2 separate regions of the Homo sapiens genome follow, and region 1 is linked to region 2. The links are contacts of gene promoters, found by promoter capture Hi-C in human tissues and cell types (Jung and others, 2019). All regions are on one chromosome and are shown on one strand. Each heading gives the region's core, a stretch centred on a gene start or on the middle of the fragment in contact. The rest is flanking DNA. Distances are from core to core; before and after follow the strand shown.

What was found. Contacts are between HindIII fragments. The study calls those that stand out against the background at their distance.
Region 1: a fragment that was not itself captured here is called in contact with the fragment with the promoter of FAM186A in region 2 in 3 of the 25 tissues and cell types used here (H1 embryonic stem cells, mesenchymal stem cells and small bowel).

What each region holds. Positions count from the first base shown.
Region 1 is chr12:50,285,179-50,289,232 of GRCh38, reverse strand. All of the region lies in intron 1 of LOC107984505 (a long non-coding RNA gene), which reads right to left. It also overlaps the pseudogene LOC100418734. Among named protein-coding and RNA genes, the nearest start is that of LIMA1, 3.7 kb to the right of the region's middle. The HindIII fragment of the contact is 5,152 bases long and covers 1-3,886 here.
Region 2 is chr12:50,394,924-50,399,193 of GRCh38, reverse strand. It overlaps FAM186A (family with sequence similarity 186 member A), which reads left to right and starts at 2,585. Exons shown (of 8, transcript NM_001145475.3): 1 at 2,585-2,901. The coding sequence starts at 2,710. The HindIII fragment of the contact is 8,551 bases long and covers 1-4,270 here.

The DNA of each region.
Region 1 (4,054 bases), core at 61-2,560, 110 kb after region 2:
GCCAATTTATGATGGCAATTCAACCATCATTCGATGTTTTCAATCTGCTAATCTTTTCCCAACATATTTCTTGTCCTTAAGTGTGACATTTGATTTACTATTAAACTACCATTCCTCATCCATTACCATTTTTCAACCTCATACAAACTTATTAAAATGAAACTTCTTTCAGTTTTAGCACTATTGATTGCAATAATGCTATCTTTTTAGCTTTTTGTATAATTGCAGGGATTGTAATTTTGTTTGATTCTAAATTATTACTTGCAAAATCTTGAAAATAACTCAAGGCCAGGCATGGTGGCTCACACCTGTAATCCCAGCACTTTGGGAGGCCGAGGTGGGCGCATCACTTGCGGTCAGGAGTTCGAGACCAACCTGACCAACATGATGAAACCCTGTCTCTACTAAAAATACAAAAAATTGCTGGGCGTGGTGGCAGGCGCCTGTAATCCCAGCTACTTGGGAGGCTGAGGCAGGAGAATCGTTTGAACCTGGGAGGTGGAGGTTGCTGTGAGCTGAGATCACGCCACTGCACTCTAGCCTGGGTGACAGAGCGAGACTCCATATCAAAAAAAAAGAAAAAATAATTCAAAATACATGTTTTAAAATTTCACTTAAATGATATTATTTTCCACAGTGAAGAAGTCCAAGAAGGTGATTTTAACAAATAAAAACAACTTAAAATGATGTTTCTAATAAAAGACATGTATTCATTACTTTTTAGTAACACATTCTTAGGCAGAGGTTTAAATCTATTTTTGACTAGGTGTGGCAGTTCATGCCTGTAAGCCCAGTGCTTTGGGAGTCCAAGATGAGAAGATTGCTTGAGGCCAAGAGTTCAAGACCAGCCTAGGCAACATGTGACACCCCATCTCTACCAAAAGTTTTTAAAAATTAGCCAGGTGTAGTGGCATGTGCCTGTCGTCCCAGCTACTTGAGAGGCAGAGGCACGAGAATCACTTGAGTTCAGGAGTGTGAGGTTGTAATGAGCTATGATTGTGCCACAGCACTCCAACCTGGGCAACAGAGTGAGACCCTGCCTCAAAAAAAAAATTATTAAATGGAATGACTTCAAACTGATGACTTAACCAAATATTCAACTTGAGAGTCATGCTTTCTAATGCCAATTTTTAATTTTTCCAAAGCTTTTATAGTGCATTCTATTAATTTTTTAATTTTCTGAATGTTGGTTGATCTTAACTGCAGTGCAACTGAAAGTAATGAAAATTATTTAAGAATATCAATCATTAAAGTAAGGTATTACAAGAAATTAATATTAGCTGATCTTGTTGCTAGGCCAGAATAAAAAGAATGAGAAAAATGCATTTATAATGTAGGATATGTGTGCCATGCAGCATTAGCGGTTGGTAAAGTACATGTCCACCCATCTCAACCTAAGTACTTGGCTAATTTTAATAATTTCAGTTTCAAGTTATTTAGCTATAATTTCCAACTGTTTCCTTTTTTTGGGTTGGTGGTAAACAGAATAAATTTTATCCATAATATTGTTATTTTTTCTTGAGACGGAGTCTCACTCTGTCTCAGGCTGGGGTGCAGTGGCACAATCTCAGTCCACTGCAACTTCCGCCTCCTGGGTTCAAGTGATTCTCCTGCCTCAGCCTCCCGAGTAGCTGTGACTACTGGCGTGCACCACCACGCCCAGTGAATTTTTGTATTTTTAGTAGAGACAGGCTTTCACCATGTTAGCCAAGCCAGTTCTGAATTCCTGACCTCAAGTTATCCGCCTGCCTCGGCCTTCTAAAGTGCTGGAATTACAGGCATGAGCCACCGTGCCCAGACTATCCAGAATATTTTTAAATGATTGACTTGTTTTATTTCAGATACTGAATTATAATTGGTAACAGAACCAAATGATGACATTAGGAAATTTTTCTGACAAATCTGTGGCCACTCCAGTCTTCTTTCCCATTATTGTGAAAGCACCATTAAAACAAAATGCAGCTTACTTTCAACTATTCATTATTAAATTTCAAATATTCATTACTGAAGCCACATTTAAAGTAGACAATATCGGCTGGGCGCGGCGGTTCACGCCTGTAATCCCAGCACTTTGGGAGGCCAAGGCTGGTCGATCACTAGAGGTCAAGAGTTTGAGACCGGCCTGGCCAACATGGTGAAACCCTGTCTCTACTAAAAATACAAAAATTAGCTGGGCTTGGTGGTGCACGCCTGTAATCCCAGCTACTTGGTTGAGACAGGAGAATCACTTGAACCCAGGGGGCAGAGGTTGCAGTGAGCCAAGATCGTGCCAGTGCACTCCAGCCTGAGGGACAGAGCACAACTCTGCCTCAAAAGAAAAAAAGTAAAATAGACAATAATGTAGTAGAAATATAATCTGTGTGGCAGACACCAATTACTTTTTTTTTTTTTTTTGGAGATGGAGTCTCGCTCTGTTGCCCAGGCTGGAGTGCAATGGTGTGATCTCTGCTCACTGCAACCTGTGTCTCTGGAGTTCAAGCGATTCTCCTGCCTCAGCCTCCTGAGTAGCTGGGACTACAGGCGCACACTACTACACCTGGCTAATTTTTGTATTTTTAGTAGAGATGGGATTTCACCATGTTGTCCAGGCTGGTCTCGAACTTCTGACCTCGTGATCCGCCCACTTGTGATCTGCCCACCTCAGCCTCCCAAAGTGCTGGGATTATAGGCGTGAGCCACCGTGCCCAGCTGACACCAATTCTTTTAAAGCAACAAATATCTTTACCAGTACAGAAGCTTATTCAACTGTGTACTGGAGATAAATCTCTAGGTAATTTTCTTCCAATATGTAGATGTCTCATCAATTATAGTGCATATTTGCCATTCTCTTCCAAGATTCTTAAATATGTTGACATAATTTCTTTTGCAGTATGTTCTGCTATTCTTGTTGCACCGTATCATGTATGTAAACATTTGCCTGTATCTACTCCATTTTTCCCTTTCAACTCTATTGTTCCCTTCACTATCAGATAAAGGCCTATGAGTTTTTTGTTTGAGACAGGGTCTTGTTCTGTCGCCCAGGCTGGAGTGCAGTGGTGTGATCTCGGCTCATTACAATCTCCAACTCCTGGGCTCAAGGCATCCTCCCACTTCACACTCCCAGGTAACTGGGATTACAGGCACACACCACCACACCCAGCTTTTTTGTCTGTTTATTTTATTTGTTTGTAAAGACAGGGTTTTGCCATGTTGGCCAGGCTAGTCTCTAACTCCTGGCCTCAAGTGATCCCTGCCTGGGCCTCCCAAAGTGCTGGGATTACAGGTGTGAGCCACTGCACCTGGCCCATGCCCATTCTTTAAGTATTGTCTATGGCTACTTTGGCACATTTGGCACTACAGTGAGAGCTGAGTAGCTGTGACAGAGACTATAAGTCCCACAAAGCCTAAAATATTTACTATTTGGCTGTTTACACAAAAGGTTTGCTAACATATGGTCTAGAAAAATCAACAAAACAATAAATCACGCCCTGACTTGCTGCATTTGCCCATTTCCATGGTGTAAATACTCCCCTTACAGCCAATTTCGTGCTACCAATGTGACATTTCTGAATAGAGTTGGGAAGAGATGCATACAACATATGTAGTATTTCCACAGGGAATACAATGGACAAATAACCTCAAGAGCAGAATTATTAGTAAAATGAAGAAAAAAACTACAAAGTGATGAGTTTTTAATATTTATTATATTTAAAAATTTTTTTTTAGAAATAGGGTCTCACTCTGTTGCCCAGGCTGGAGTGCAGTGGTGTGATCATAGCTCACTGCAACATCAAACTTCTAGCCTCAAGCCATCTTCCCGCCTTAGCCTCCCAAAGCACTGGGATTACAAATGTGACTCAACATGCCTGGCCTATTACTTTTATTTTTAAGATAATTTAATTGTAGCTTATATAATTTGATTTCTAATAATGGTTGTGCTTATGACCTGGCTCATAAAATCCCTGAAAATTTAGCAATCAACCTAATGCTAGCTCTATCTTCAAAAGGAGGCTTTGGGAAAGCAAGTAATTTTTGTATCCACTAAAGCACAGAGCTAAAAAAAATTGGGGGGAGG
Region 2 (4,270 bases), core at 1,336-3,835:
TGTTATCTCAGGCCCACCCTAATGTGGTCCTCAGTAAATTCCCGTGAAGTCATCTCAGTGATTAAACCAATCTCCTTACTTTCCCCCTAAGATGCAAACTCATTAGCACTCACCGCCAAAGCCATGGCTCAAGGTGTTGCCCCTACCTGGATTGCCTCCATTTGTCAATCAACCTTCTCTCTCCATAAGGTTTTCTCAAAGATTCTGCTTCTACAGATCTCTTCTTCGTGTCCCTTATTAGCACTTGATTATTATATTCTATCTTAAATCTTTTCTTTTTTGTTTTAGTTTCTTCACAGGAACCCTATCATATATTCTTCAGTTTAGGATAATGTAAGCTGCATAGTGTTTCAACAAATGCTTGTCGAATTGAAAGGGAAGCAGGATTTAAAAATTGACTTTAAGAAGCCTTCATGGCCAGGCGTGGTGGCTCATGGCTGTAATCCCAGCACTTTGGGAGGCCACGAGGTCAGGAGATCGAGACTGTCCTGGCAAACACGGTGAAACTCTTTCTCTACTAAAAATACAAAAAATTAGCCGGGCGTGGTGGTGGGCGCCTGTAGTCCCAGCTACTTGGGAGGCTGAGGCAGGAGAATGGCGTGAACCTGGGAGGCGGAGCTTGCAGTGAGCCTAGATCGTGCCTCTGCACTCCAGCCTGGGTGACAGAGTGAGATTTTGTCTCAAAGAAAAGCCTTCATGTCTAGTTGCTGATTGATGAATTCCATGCTGCATAAAAGATGCAAGTGAGAGAGAAAGAATAATGCAAATTTAGTTTAGTTGACAACTAAACTTTGGGAGGCCGAGGTGAGTGAATCACTTGAGGAGTTTGAGACCAGCCTGGCCAACACAGTGAAACCCTATATCTACCAAAAATATAAAAAATTAGCCAGGTGTAGGCCGAGTGCAGTGGCTCACACCTGTAATCTCAGCACTTTGGGAGGCCAAGGCATGCAGATCACGAGGTCAGGAGATCGAGACCATCCTGGCTAACATGGTGAAACCCCGTCTCTACTAAAAAATACAAAAAACTAGCCGGGTGTGGTGGCGGGCGCCTGTAGTCCCAGCTACTCGGGAGGCTGAGGCAGGAGAATGGAGCAAACCTGGGAGGCGGAGCTTGCAGTGAGCCGAGATCATGCCACTGCACTCCAGCCTGGGCCACAGGCGAGATTCCGTCTCAAAAAAAAAAAAAAAAAAAATTAGCCAGGTGTGGTGGCGCATGCCTGTAATCCCAGCTACTCGGGAGGCTGAGGTAGAAGAATCGTTTGAACCTGGGAGGCAGAGGTTACAGTCTGCTGAGATGGCACTACTACACTCCAGCCTGGACAACAGAGTGAGACTCTGCCTCAAAAAAAAAAAAAGAAAGAAAGAAAGGAAGGAAGGAAGGAAGGAAGGAAGGAAGGAAGGAAGGAAGGAAGGAAGGAGAAAGAAAGAAAGAAAGAAAAAACAATACATACACCTGTAGTAAAACTATGTAAAAATAGATAACACAAATATGTAAAATTCATGATTGTCATTTCCTCTGGAATGGGACAGTGGGGAAGGAAGGAACCAGGGGTGGGGGACATCAAAGAGGACTTCAACCTTCTGTAATGCTTTTTTATTATTAAAAAAATTGGAAGCAAATATTAAACAAAAATTAGCCAGGCGTGGTGGCGCGCACCTGTAATTCCAGCTACTCAGGGAGGCTGAGGCACAAGAATCTCTTGAACCTGGGAGGCAGAGGTTGCCATGAACCAAGATCACACCACTGCACTCCAGCCTGGGTAACAAAGTGAGACTCTGTCTCCAAAAAAAAGGGAAAGAAAAGAAAAGAAAAGAAAAAAGAGTAAGCAGTGCAAAGAGTGTGATCCTCATCCAAATGATATCATCCAAGTTACTTCATCCAAATGATATCATCCAAGTTACTACATGTCTAGGAAAAGTTAAGGGGCAGCTGAGGAAGTAGTTGTAACCTTTATTCCATTACAGGCTTAAAAATACTTAAGCAAAACCCCAGGAAGAGAGAAGAACCAGGAGTTATATTTGACACACCTAGATTTTTTTTTTTTTTTTTTTGAGACAGTTTCACTCTTGTTGCCCAGGCTGGAGTGCAATGACGTGATCTCGGCTCACCACAACCTCCGCCTCCCGGGTTCAAGTGATTCTCCTGCCTCAGCCTCCCAAGTAGCTGGGACTACACGCATGTGCCACCTCACATGGCTAATTTTGTATTTTTTTTTTTTTAGTAGAGACGGGGTTTCTCCATGTTGGTCAGGCTGGTCTCGAACTCCGACCTCTGGTGATCCACCTGCCTCGGCCTCCCAAAGTGCTGGGATTACAGGCATGAGCCACTGCACCCGGCCAACACATCTAGATTTTAAGCTTATTTAAGCAGGGCTATATCTTCTGTTTATTTTAGCATTCCTGTTGTCTATTATTTCCTACCCTCCTTCCCCCCTCACCCTTCTACCATGGCAGCATATAGAATGACCAGTTCTCTGCACATAGTAAGCATTCTTTACATGTTTGATCAATGATAATGTCACAATGGGTCTATTGTGACATCAACAGGACGGGAATATCATGGGAGCCACCAATTAGTAGCAGAGTATGCCACAACTTCTAGGATCAGGAAAGACCTCTCCTAGCTTCCTACTGGATATCTTTATTAGCATTTTTGTAGATTCTGTGAAAAAGAAGAAATAAAACGAAATCACCCACATTTTCAAAATGTTCTTCAAAATGAAAAATGAGATAGACAATGACCCTGAATCAGAAAAATGCATCAAGGATTCCACCATCATGAGAAGAGAGCCCCAAAATATCCTTAGTCCTTTGATGCTCCCTAACCTTGAGATCCCATTCTCAGTAAAGGATATCATCTCTAGGATTGAGCGCGCACAGCTCCATCGAGCCAGAGAGGTAGGTAGTGAATCTGAAGTTTACAGACTGCAATTTTCTTTTTAAACTTTCTGTGACCAAGTACATTTTTGTTTATTTTAGAAATCACTTTCATGATATTTGACTGTATTTAGGGTAGCTTTGACTTCAAATGACAATTTCACCTGACACCGACTGTGGATATAACAAGCTCCAATTTGACATTAATCTCTTTATATCAGGTTTAATAAAGCCATTTAAGAAATAAATCAAGCCGGGCATGGTGGCTCACGCCTGTAATCCCAGCACTTTGGGAGGCCGAGGCGGGCGGATCACTGAGGTCGGGAGTTCAAGACCAGCCTGACCAACATGGAGAAACCACCGTTTCTACTAAAAATACAAAAAGTTAGCTGGGCATGATTGCACTTGCCTGTAATCCCAGCTACTCAGGAGGCTGAGGTAGGAGAATTGCTTGAACCAGGGAGGTGGAGGTTGTGGTGAGCCAAGATTGCACCATTGCACTCCAGCCTGGGCAACAAAAGCGAAACTCTATCTCAAAAAAAAAAAAAGTTTTCATTTGTTCCCTATGGAGGTTTTATCAAACAGCTATTAGCCAGATAGAATTTAGATGGCTTTGAATTCTAGCTCCTTTTATTTTCCCTGTACACTTCAAGGAGAAATTAGGAGAAATTCAAGGAGAATAGAAAGAGTGTTTACATAATGTCAGCCGGGTGCGGTGGCTTATGCCTGTAATCCCAACACTTTGGGAAGCTGAGATGGGAGGATCCCTTGAGGCCAGGAGTTAGAGACCAGCCTGGTCAACATAGTGAGACCCCATCTATATTTTTAGAAAAATAAATAAATAAATAAATACATAAGAATCTAATAGACCCCCAAACAATTAAGGTTATACTGCATTTTATTCTCTCGCAGTACAACAAAATCAGGCCAGGCACAGCGATTCATGCCTGTAATCCCAATGCTTTGGGAGGCCAAGGCAGGAGGATCTCTTGAGCCCAGGAGTTCTAGACCAGCTTGGCCAACATAAGGAGACCTCCTGTCTACTAAAAATAAAAAAATTAGCCAGGCATGTTAGCTCAAACCTGTAGTCCCAGCTCCTTGGGAGGCCAGAGGATCCCCTGAACCCAGGAGACTGCAGTGAGCACCATGCTTGCACTACTGCACCCCACTCAGCATGGGTGACATAGCGAGACCCTGTCTCAAAAACAAACAAACAAACAAAAATCAGTCATGTTTGATGAAATTGATTAAGGGGGGGTTCTTTCCTATGTTTAAGGAAAGCTAAACTGGTCACAGTGGCTCATGCCTGTAATCCCAGCACTTTAGGAGGTCAAGGTGAGAGGCTCACTTGAGCCCAGGAGTTTGAGACCATCCCAGGCAACAAAGCAAG